2 separate regions of the Homo sapiens genome follow, and region 1 is linked to region 2. Evidence: promoter capture Hi-C in human tissues and cell types (Jung and others, 2019). All regions are on one chromosome and are shown on one strand. Each heading gives the region's core, a stretch centred on a gene start or on the middle of the fragment in contact. The rest is flanking DNA. Distances are from core to core; before and after follow the strand shown.

Region 1 (6,102 bases), core at 461-2,960, 390 kb after region 2:
TCTTATAAAAGGGCTGAAGGGAGCCTATTTGTCCTTTTCATCCCTTTCTCCCTTTCCACCATGTGAGGAGACAGCATTTGTCTCTTCTGGAGGACGCAGCAACAAGGCACCATCTTGAAAGCAGAGATGGAGCCCTCACCAGATACTGGATCTGCCAATCCCTTGATCTTGGACTTTCCAGCCTCCAGAACTGTGAGAAATAAATTTCTACTATTTATAAATCACCCAGACTAAGGTATTTTGTTATAGCAGCAGGAACAGACTAAGACAAACGCTTAAAGGAATCTTGAAGAAGAATCTCCGGGTGTAGTTAAAATATACGGTTTGAACCATTCCCCTAAGTAAATTCAGGTGGAATCCCCATGTCATGGATGATGTGTGTCATTTATAGAAGTGATCTCTCTAGGGAAGGATGAGTAGTGGGTGCCTGAGGGGGATTTAGGGACAGCCAAGGCTGGTTGTAATGACTAGGGCAGTGTCTCAATTTGTATGACCAGTACGTGATGACATAGAATAGGGTTTTCCAAAGTGGGCACCGCTGTGGTACTCAGATGCTTCTAGTAGTCCAGAGACCAAAGCTGGTGTATTAGGCCATTCTTGCATTGCTATAAAGAAATACCTGAGACTGAGTAATTTACAAAAGAGGTTTAATTGGGTCATGGTTTTGCAGGCTGTGCAACCATGGTGCCAGCACCTGCTTGGCTTCTGGGGAGGCCTCAGGGTGCTTTTATTCCTGGCTGAAGATGAAGCGGGAGCAGACATGTCACGTGGCCAGAGCAGGAGCAAGAGAGAGAGTGGTGGTTGTGAGGGGTGCCACATACTTAAACAACCAGATCTCCTGAGAACTCATTTACTATCACGAGGACAGCACCAAGCCATGAGGGATCCGCTCCCATGACCCAGACATCTCCCACCAGGCCTCGCCTCCAACACCAGGGTTTACAGTTCAACATGAGATTTGGCCAGGATATATATTAAAATTATATCCGTTGGTCATTAGGTCTACTGGCCACACCATTCCTGCTGATCCTGTCTGTGGTGGGTCAGCTGACTTGAGCCTTCAGTGGTCTGGCCATTCTGTTTCTTGCTGAAACCAATTAAATGCAGGCGAATTTGCCAGACTACAGCCCTGTGAGGGTGGGAACTTTGTCTTTTTCACCACTATATGCCCAGCCCCTAGAATTGTGCCTGGAAAACAGCGTGTGCTCAAAAATGTATGTTGAATGAGTGAATAAATGAATGACTGAATGAAATTGGCCTCCTGAATTATTCACCCAACTCCCGACAGCTTGATTAATGAAGTAAGCTGATAAAGAAGTTTCCAGAGGCTGAGGGCAGTGGCTCATGCCAGTAATCCCAGCACTTTGGGAGGCCGAGGCGGGAGAATCACCTGCGATCAGGAGTTCAACCACCCTGGCCAACATCGTGAAACCCCGTCTCTACTAAAAATACAAAAAGTTAGCCAGGCGTGGTGGTGCGTGTTTATAGTTCCAGCTACTTGGGAGGCTGAAGCAGGAGAATCGCTTGGACTCGTGAGGCGGAGGTTGCAGTGAGCCGAGATTGTGCCATTGCACTCAAGCCTGGGCAACAAGAGCGAAACTCCATCTCAAAACAAACAAACAGAAGTTCCTGGAAAGGTAAGGCCTGAACTAAAGCCCCACCTGGAAAGATGCTTTATTGACTGGCTGATGAATAAGAAAGACCCCTCCCAACCCTGCCCCTTGCTGCATGGAGCAAATTGTCAGGGGCCAGACACCTAGGCTTCATGGTGCTGTGCCAGGAGGTCGTAGAGGGCCAAGCTGCCCCTGCCTAACTCCTCTATCTCTGCTCCCTGATTATCAATACTCCTCTGGCACATCCAACAGGGCTCCTAGGTTGTTAAGTGGACTCAAGGCCCGGGCAGGCTTAGGCTGCAGATTGGCTTCTGTCTGAAGTTCCATCAAAGAGAGAAGAGCAACATCTCAGAAACATGATGAAAGGCTCCTGGGAAGCAGGGTCTGATTTTCAAAAGGTCATCTACAGCCCACATCAAGAGTACCTGCTGTTCTCAAAGGACAGGGCTCTAAACAGAGACTGCAGCTATTTCCTTCTCTGACATTCAACACAGTGACTAGAACCAGGCAAAGGCACCCAGAGGACCATGGCAGCCCATCCTGGAGTTGAGAGGGCTGGATGATGGGGCCCTGAGGGAGAGACAGCACTGTCTTGGGCTGTTATAGTCAGGATCTGCCACATGTCCTAACAGGGCTGGAGGAAGGGTCCTGATATGGTTTGGCTGTGTCCCCACTCAAATCTCATCTTGAATTGTAGCTCCCACAATTCCCATGTGTTGGGAGTGACCCAGTGGGAGGTAATTGAATCATGGGGGCAGGTCTTTCCCATGCTATTCATGTGATAGTGAATAAGTCTCATGAGATCTGATGGTTTTATAAAGGGCAGTCTCCCTGCACAAACTCTCTTCCCTTGTCTGCTGCCACGTGAGACGTGCCTTTCACTTTCTGCCATGATTGTGAGGCCTCCCCAGCCACGTGGAACTGTGAGTCCATTAAATCTCTTTCTTTTGTAAATCGCCTAGTCTTGGGTGTGTCAGGTATGTCTTTTATTTTTATTTATTTATTTTGAGACAGAGTCTCACTCTGTTGCCCGGGCTGGAGTGCAGTGGTGCTATTTTGCCTCACTGCCGCCCCTGCCTCCCTGGTTCAAGCGATTCTCCTGCCTTGGCGTCCCAAGTAGCTGGGATTACAGGCGCTTGCCACCACGCCTGGCTAATTTTTGCATTTTTAGTAGAGACAGGGTTTCGCCATGTTGGCCAGGCTGGTCTCAAACTCCTGACCTCAGGTGATCTGCCTGCCTCAACCTCCCAAGATGCTGGCATAACAGGCGTGAGCCACTGTGACCGGCCTGGGGTATGTGTTTCTCAGCAGTGTGAAAGTGGATTAATACAAGTGCCCTGCCTGTCTTGAGAGACAGTAGAAAGACACTGTCCTGGGAGTCCAAGGCAGGGCCTGTCCCCATAGGGAGCACAGGGTGAGCAGGACAGAACCAATCTTCAGGGGGAACTTTCCAGAGCCGTGGATTGTTGGACTGACCGCTCCCTTGACTGAAGGAAGGTTCGAAGAAGGCCCTCCAGCCCGAGGTGTGTCCTGAATCAGGCCCTGGGGATCATAGCAAGAACCAGCAGGCCCTTTCATCAGAGCCCCACTCTCTGGGCATGTCACAGCTGTGCCTAGGAGGGCTCGCTCTCTCTCCTCCAGTGGGAACACAGCAGGGCCAGTAGGGCCTCCGAACTGGGCCCATCTTCCTCAAGCTGAGTTCGTCAATTTCCCCAGGCCCAGACTGTCCCCCTGAGCCTTTGCCCAGGAGCTGCTTTGCCCACAAAGCCTTCTCACCCTGCCTTCTTGTTGCAGATTAAAGGGCACCTCCACTGTAATTAGATCCTTTTTCAAACAAAAGAACTATACGTAATGTCCTTGAAATAACTGGGGAAATTTGAATATGAACTGGGCATTGGATTATCAAAGAAATATGATGACCTACGTTTGGTGTGATAAAGGTATCCCTATGTAGGAAATTATCTTTGTGTGTTCTTTTTTTTTGAGACGAAGTCTCGCTCTTATCCCCCAGGCTGGAGTGCAATGGCATGATCTTGGCTCACTGCAACCTCCGCCTCCTGGGTTCAAGCGATTCTCCTGCCTCAGCCTCCCAAGTAGCTGGGATTATAGGCATGTGCCACCACGTCTGGCTAATTTTTGTATTTTTAGTGGAGACGGGGTTTCACCATGTTGGCCAGGCTTGCCTCAAACTCCTGACCTCAGGCGATCCACCCGCCTCGGCCTCCCAAAGCGCTGGGATTACAGGCGTGAGCCACCGTGCCCAGCTATCTTTGTTTTTAAAAGGAGGCCGGGCGTGGTGGCTCATGCCTATAATCCCAGCACTTTGGGAGGCCAAGGCGGGCGGATCAAAAAATCAGGGGATTGAGACCATCCTGGCCAACATGGTGAAACCCTGTCTCTACTAAAAATGTAAAAATTAATCGGGCGTGGTGGTGCACTCCTGTAATCCTAGCTTCTTGGGAGGCTGAGGCCAGAGAATCCCTTGAACTCGGGAGGCGGAGGTTGCAGTGAGCCAAGATTGCGCCACTGCATTCCAGCGAGCCAAGATTGCGCCACTGCACTCCAGCCTGGTGACAGAGTGAGACTCTGTCTCAAAAAAAAAAAAAAAAAAAGGAACACTGAGGTATTTGGGGGTGAACCTCTGCAATGTCTGAAGTTTACCTTAAAATCCTTCAGAAGGAAGTTAGAAATAAATCTAGCAAGATGCTAATAACTGTTAAGCCTGGGTGGTGAGCATGTAAGGCTTTCTGTATGTTTGGAAATTTATATAATATAATGTAGGAAGAACCTCCGAGAGGCCTTCCCTGATTCCCTAGAACTGGGTTGGGTGTCCCTCTCATGGGTGACCGTAGTTCCTGTCCTGGCCCGACATCAGTCACCGGGACACTTAGAATTCTGAATTCAACTGCCTGCCTTTTAAAATTAGGTTAAGACCCTTGGGGGTACCCCCAGAGAGTCTGACAGAGAGTAGATGCTAATACAGGAATGCTGGAAAGAAGGAAGGAGGAAGAGGGAGGAGGGAGGGAGGCTGCAGCCCCCAGCTCCCGTCTCAGAACCAGGCACACAGCAAGTCCTCAACTCTTGTTTATTAGGCTGAATTTTCTTTTCTATTTTTTTTGAAACGGAGTCTTGCTCTGTCACCCAGGCTGGAGTGCAGTGGTGCAATCTTGGCTCCCTGCAACTTCCACCTCCAGGGTTCAAGTAATTCTTGTGCCTCAGCCTCCTGTGTAGCTGGGAATACAGGCATCCACCACCACGCCTGGCTAATTTTTATATGTTCTTTTTTTAGTAGAGACAAGGTTTTGCCATGTTGGCCAGGCTGGTCTTGAACTCCTGACCTCAAGTGATCTGCCCGCCTCAGCCTCCCAAAGTGTTGGGATTACAGGCATGAGCCAGCGTGCCTGGTCTAGGCTGAATTTTCTAGGAGGAAGCCGGCTCTCCTGTCTTCCTTTTCCTTGAGGGTTCTATCAGTGTCATAGTCAGAAGACAGGCTGGGTTTTGTGGCCGCCTTCCTTTTCTGTGTCCCAAGCCCACCCTCAGCCAAAGTGCTGTTGGAAATTGAGGCTGAATATTTATGCCCACCACACAGAAATGTGTACATGAATTTTTTTGTTTGTTTGTTTGTTTGTTTTGAGATGGAGTCTTGCTCTATTGCCCAGGCTGGAGTGCAGTGGCGCGATCTTGGCTCGCTGCAACCTCTGCCTCCCGGGTTCAAGTGATTCTTCTGCCTCAGCCTCCCGAATAGCTGGGACTACAGGCGTGCGCCACCACGACTGGCTAATTCATGAATGTTTTTAGCAGCAGTATTCATGATAGCAAAAAAGGTCAAACAACCCAAATGTCCACCAACTGATGAATGGATAAAATGTGGTGTATCCATACAACGAAATATTATCTGGCAATAAAAGGGAACAAAGTTCTGATGGATGCCACAACAGGGATGAACCTCAAAAACATTACGCTAAGTGGAAGAAGCCAGTCACGAAGGGTCACATATTATGATCACATTTATATGGAAGGTCCAGTGTAGGCAAATCCACAGAGGCAGAAGACTGATATGTAGTTTCCTAGGACTATGAGAGTTAGAGGAAGACAGAGTCTCGCTCTGTCACCCAGGCTGGAGTGCAGTGGCGTGATCATGGCTCGCTGTAGCCTTGACCTCCTGGGCTCAAGCAATCCTCACACATTAGCCTCTCGAATAGCTGGGACTGCAGGTGCAAGCTGCTACGCCTGGCTAATTTTTGTATTTTTTATTTTAGTAGAGATGGGTTCTTGCCATGTTGCCCCGGCTGGTCTTGAACTCCTGGGCTCAAGTGATCCTCCCACCTCTGCCCCCAAAGTGCTAGGATTATAGGTGTGAGCTACTGCACCCAGCCAGTAGGAGTTTTTTGGGGGGGATGACAAAAATGTTCTAAAATTGATTGTAGTGTTGGTTGCAGGACTCTGAATATACCAAAAACCTCTGAATCGTCACTTTAAAAGCATGAAT
Region 2 (5,957 bases), core at 2,122-4,621:
GAATACTGACTGTAATGGATGTTGTAGGATAAGATTCCCAAAGTAGAAGAAACTAGGCTGACTTATGAGGCCCTTCTAACTCCAAAATGCCATAATTTTAAAGCCCGATAGTAGAAGAACAATGCAAGATGCAGGAATGGCTTCTGAGCTGAGAAATGCAGCAGCTCCAGAATTCTGTTTAGTTCAACTTTCAACCACTTCCCAAGGACTGAGTTATTAATGGTAAAATAGCCAAAAATGAATACAAGTGGGTCTCATTATCAAGAAAATTCATTATAGCATTTAAGAATCGAACTTCTAAAGAAGATTAATTGGGGGGTTGATTATTTGCATTGCAAAACAATTCCTGACTTTATGAAATCATTTTTGGATACTAGAGTTCCTGTGAGCATCTTAGCATCGATTTATAGGTCACCAGTCACTTAGCCAAGGTGCTTGGGAGAGCAAACTCTTAACTAACCACCGCTCTTTAGTGCTTATTTGGAAATAATAAACATCTGAGATGTTTATTATTTCCTAATTGTCATTAGGAAAACAATATAATTTCACTACAGGTATTTAGACACTCCATCAGAAAACACAAAACATCCAAAAATTCAATGCAGAAATAGCTAGAATTTCTTGAGTACTATAATATATCAAAAATACCATTGCATTTAGTCCTCACATAATCCTTGTAAAGCAATATATTATTATCTCAGCTTGGTCAAGTAATTTATTCGGGGGCACTAAATTACATACAGCCCAAATCTTTCTGATTCTTTCCCTTACACCAAGTTACCCCAATCAACATCTCTTAGAACAAAATTGCTCACAGACAGCTTGGAGACCATGTGTGTTTCGGTTAATTTTTGCCCTTAAAAGATTTTCAATATGTGTTGCCAGTGTTTAAATGTTAGAATTCCTGTAAAAGTCTGGATGTCCTGGCTGTCTCAAAAGGTCAGAAGGTCTGGAAGCCGTGTCCCTGCAGTCCTGATGGTGACAGGCTGGGTGGGTCCCACCTCAGCAGGGGCCTGAGTTCTGCAGATTGTGCTGGTTCCCACCCCTCTGTGTTGCATCCCCCGAAGGGAAGTGAGTGTCATCTGGGATTTATCCCCTCCCATCCAGCCCTCATTGCTTACATTGTTATCTACCTGGAACCTGTTGGCACTGCATTTACAACCCCAAATAAAATCTCTCTTCCACTTCCCTTGCCCTAATTCAGATTCCAAATGCTCTGGTTCTGTATGTCTCAAACTCATTTTTGCATTGTTCTCATTTCCCGAGAGTAGTTGGGCTTAAGGAATACTCATCTTAAAATTCTTCCGAACACAAGTAATTCTATGCCATTGTTTCCTCACCTGTTGGGGAGTTTTTGCCTCTGCACTTAATAGCCCATCTTGTTTTCATTTCTTTCCGCTCCTGGGGGGCTAGGTTTGGTGTTGCTGGTGATGGTGGGGGAGGAAGAAATGCCTTCAAGTCATCTCTGAGATGACCAATGGGCTGTGACCAGCAAGCTGGGACCACTGAGCTGGTGGAATGGCCTTAGTGAGTAATAGACAGCAGTGATGTGTCAGCTTTTTTCTGGCCCAGGAACAGCCAAACCTCTTATATTTCAGTGGCCTAGTTCCCAATAGACCTTGAAGGCCCTCCAGGTCTTCTTTCCACCTACCCCTTGCTCCATACCACCACCTTCCACCCCATAATATTATAGAATGACACCTAGTCAGATGAAATGATACAACTTAATTTTATTAGGACAAGGCTGGTGGGCACTGGAGTGGCACCTTCAGGGCCAGGAGAGGCACTGGGGAGGGGTCACAGGATGCTACTCGGGCACCTAGAAGCCACAGCTGCCCTCCACAGAGCGGCACTGCACCATGCGCAGGAATGTCTCGACCTTGTCCATGTCCTTCCTGAAGCAGTAGAGCAGCCCGTAGTTCTTGAGCAGTGCGTCATGGTTGTGCGAGTTTGTGTCAAACTTGCTGTAGGTCTGCTTGAGGATCTGCCCAGTCCGGCGGCTGCCGTCTTCCAGCCTCTGCAAAGTGAAGGAAGAGAAGGAGAGGCCAAGCGCTTGGGCACTGTTCCCTCCCTCTCTCATTTATCCATTTTCCTCCCTCCCCTTCAGGGTGTAGAGAAAGGCCTGGAGGATTCACCAGGCGAAATGAAGAATAAGGTGAGTTCTCTTGGGTCAGCGCCTTACTGCTAAAAAGAGGGCAGCAGTATTTCTCTCCCCCAGCCCTCGAAGCCAGTGGGGTTCCAGGATTGGTGACCCCTGGCGCCACCCTCACCCCCATCAGCGTTTGGATGCCTTCCTCTAGGTCCTTTAGGAGGTGATAGTCATCGCTGTCCGAGGTGTCATACACCAGGTTGTTGGCGAACATACTCCTGAGGAACCGCACGGGCTCCAGCCACGACTCGATGAGCAGCAGGGAGATGCGGAGCAGCTCTAGATTCTGCAGGGGAAGGACCGGCAGTGGCTGTGCTGCCCGGGAGCCCTGACCACAGGTCTCCCCCATCCCCGCCTAGGGGAGACGGCATCCACTCACGGATTTCTGTTGCGTTTCCTCCATGTTGGAGGGTGTCGGAATAGAGTCTGAGAAGCAGAAGGAGGTCTGGGAGTCATGCAGGAATGAATACTTCTGGTCCTTTGGGATATAGGTTTCTTCCTAGGAGAAGGACCCCCCACCAAGAAGGACTGCTGGTTTCTATGCTGGAGACCAGCTCCCATTGTTGCTTTTCTGGGAACCTGGCTCAGCCTATGCTCATCTGCCTGCATTTTCGCTTCAGAAAACAACCCTGAGCTCCTTAGTCTCCTCCCATTACTTCCCCAGTGGGGGAAAGTCACCCCTTCTTGCCACCCCTGACCCGCACCCATTCCCCAAGAACTTACAAACTCCTGGTAGGTGTCAATGGCCAGCTGGTGCGCGCGATGGGCTTGGAGCATAGCGTGGTCAAAAAGCCTGGATAAGGGAACGGTTTGGACGGCACCAGCCTCTTGAAGCCAGGGCAGGCAGAGCAGGGCAAAAGCCAGGAGCAGGGACGTCCGGGAGCCTGGGGAGAAACCGGAGGGCAATGGAGGGAGCCGGAGAGGAAGAGGCCAGCGCTCTCCCTGCTCCAGGAGCTGTTTGTTTTTTTTCTCTCTCTCCATCCCTCCAGAGACCAGGAACATTCAGAGATTGGCCAAATATCTGGCCTTAGATGGCGATACTCACATTCATAAGCCCCAAACCTGAGGGTTAGTGCCCCCGTCCCATCTACAGGGCGCTGCCTCTCCCCTCAGGACACGTTGTGCCCAAAGGGATTTTAGGGGCGCTTACCTGGAGCCATTGCCACTAGGTGAGCTGTCCACAGGACCCTGAGTGGTTCGGGGAGTTGGGCCTTGGGATCCTAGAGCCGGTCTCTTGTGGGCCCTTTTTATACCCTGGCCAGTTCTCTCTCCCTGCTTGACCCCACCTGTTTCTGTGTACATTTATGCATGGGGCCACTGACGGGCTTGTGCTAGTGGATAATTTAGAAGCTCCTCCCACACATGCTGGGATCATGCCCCCTGGCTTGTCGTCTTTCCCTTCTCACCATCACCAGTGTTGTAAGGATTGTGCACAGAGTGTCAGCCACAGACTCCACCCAACTTGTCCTCTCTTTAAGGGTCAGGTGGGTGCCCTCTGGCTGCAGGCCATGTTGGTCAACCTGAACGCGGGGAAGGCTGTCAGGATAGCCAGTCCTTGAGACCCCTACCGACCCCATTCCACTCTCTATCCTATTCCTTTCCTCCTCCCCGCGTGTTTAACTTCCACCCACCAGACAGAATGTGTGTGTTGGGAAAAGGGGCCAAGCACAGCCAATAGATTGTGGGGGTTCTGAGCACCATTGAGTCCTGAATTCCACTTTTGCTGATGACTCCTGGGCCCACCTGAGTCAGCTGGATGCAGTGCTAACACTGACCACTAGAGAGAACCAACCCCACACATTGCTCTCCCCTTTCCCTGAACCTTGGGGCGGAGGCGGTGGGGCTCCCCCAGGTCCCTGGGGATGAATAACCCAGACTCAAGGTATTGCCCCAGCTCCTTGGACCTGAAGCAGAGATACAAACCAAGAAACAGAAATCCCGGGAACAGACACGGACCACAAGCGCTTCCTCCCATAGTCCTGAAACCAACAGAGAATCTCAAAGTTGGAAGAGCTCTTGAAGATTTGAGTCTCTTCCCCAGCTTTAAAACTCAGAACACATCACGCCGAAAGAGGCCCTATCCAGCCATGGAAGCCCGTCCTCTTTTGTCTCTTCCTCCTTTCCAGACCTGTGTAGAGCTTATCCAGTTGTCAAAGGCCTGCCTGTGCATTCTCACGTCTGACCTGCAACTTGTCTTGTGTAGGAGGTATGAGTATCATCCCATTTCACAGATCAGGAGACTGAGGCTCAGAGAGACTGATTGCATGAGCTACCTCAGCCAGGGCAGCAGATCTCCACAACCTGGCTCTTCCCACATTGCGTCATTTAAAGTCCTTTCTCCAGGCCGGGCATGGTGGCTCATGCCTGTAATCCCAGCACTTTGGAAGACTGAGGTGGGTGGATCACTTGAGGTCAGGAGTTCAAGGCCAGACTAGCCAACATGGCAAAACTCCATCTCTTAAAAATACAAAAGTAGCTGTGTGTGGTGGCAGAAGCCTGCAATCCCAGTTACTCCGGAGGGTGAGGAGGTAGAATCGCTTGAACCCAGGACTCAGAGGTTGCCGTGAGCCAAGATTGGGCCATGGCACTCCAGCCTGGGCGCCAGAGTGAGACTCCATTTCAACAACCACAACAACGACAACAACAACAACAACAACAACAAAAGTCCTTTCTCCAGAGCAGGTGGTGTGGTGCTACTCAGTTATTTAGTTATTTTAGTTTCCTTTCTTTCTTTCCTTCTTTCTTTCTTTCTTTCTTTCTTTCTTTCTTTCTTTCTTTCTTTCTTTCTTTCTTTCTCTCTCTCTCTCTCTCTCTCTCTCTCTCTTTCTTTCTTTCTTTCTTTCTTTCTCTCTTTGTCTTTCTTTCTTTCTTGTTTTTGATGGAGTCTCATTCTGTCTCTGAGGCTGGAGTGCAGTGGCATGATGTTGCCTCACAGCAACCTCCACCTCCTGGGTTCCAGTGATTCTCCCGCCTCAGCCTCCCTAGTAGCTGGGATTACAGGCGCCCGCCACTATGCCGGGCTAAGTTTTGTACTTTTTAAATAGAGACGGGGTTTCACTATGTTGGCCAGGCTGGTCTCGAGCTCTTGACTTTAGGTGATCCACCCTCCCTGGCCTCCCAAAGTACTGAGATTACTGGCATGAGCCACCGCTCCCAACCCAGTTATTTCAGCTTCTATATCCCTCTGAGTGCAGGGATCCTGCCCCCAACACAAGGGGCCCTTTGCCTGATTTTGTCTTTCCATAAGGGGCAGATTGTTCTTTCTCAATTCTCAGGTGAGAATGGCCCAGTGGCATGGGGTGCCTTGTGGAAACCTCACAGCAGGAAAAGGTGAAGGCAGAGAAGGCCAGGACTGAGCCTCCTGTCTCCTGGTGCCCAGAGTTGGGGCTATTTCAATATAATCTGGAGGTCACAAGCATCAGATGCCCCCAGAGATGGCAGCAGGAAAGAGCACCCTCTCTAGTGGTGAAATCTTCCCCCCGAGTTTAAGAGCATCTAGCACTTGACTCTGTAGAAACACAAGCAAACAAACAGGCAAACGCTTCCAGAAGTGGTTGGCAGTGGTGTTGGCAACCAACATTGAACACCCACACCCCTGTGGCCTAGGATGTGAATGCTGGGGCCCTGCCATCTCCCCACTTTCAGAGCAGAAAACAGAGCTCCTTTTTCTGCCGTCATTCCTGAAGCATTACTGGACTAGCACCCCAGACTCATCATCTGCTGGGAGGGCACTGTGCTGTGAGCTGTTCTCCAGGCAGGCCTGTAGGAGGATCCAAGAGGGGTGTCATCGATGATACCAGCTCTGAGA

The links. The method cuts DNA at HindIII sites, captures the fragments that hold promoters and counts their contacts. A contact is called where the count stands out against the background at its distance.
Region 1: a fragment that was not itself captured here is called in contact with the fragment with the promoter of CSH1 in region 2 in 1 of the 25 tissues and cell types used here (lymphoblastoid cells).

The regions. Positions count from the first base shown.
Region 1 is chr17:64,283,573-64,289,674 of GRCh38, forward strand. No RefSeq gene overlaps it. Among named protein-coding and RNA genes, the nearest start is that of TEX2, 23 kb to the left of the region's middle. The HindIII fragment of the contact is 7,519 bases long and covers 1-5,470 here.
Region 2 is chr17:63,893,203-63,899,159 of GRCh38, forward strand. CSH1 (chorionic somatomammotropin hormone 1) reads right to left here and starts at 3,372. Exons shown (of 5, transcript NM_001317.6): 1 at 3,300-3,372; 2 at 2,873-3,033; 3 at 2,529-2,648; 4 at 2,271-2,435; 5 at 1,716-2,017. The coding sequence starts at 3,309. The coding sequence ends at 1,820. The HindIII fragment of the contact is 19,326 bases long and covers 1,912-5,957 here.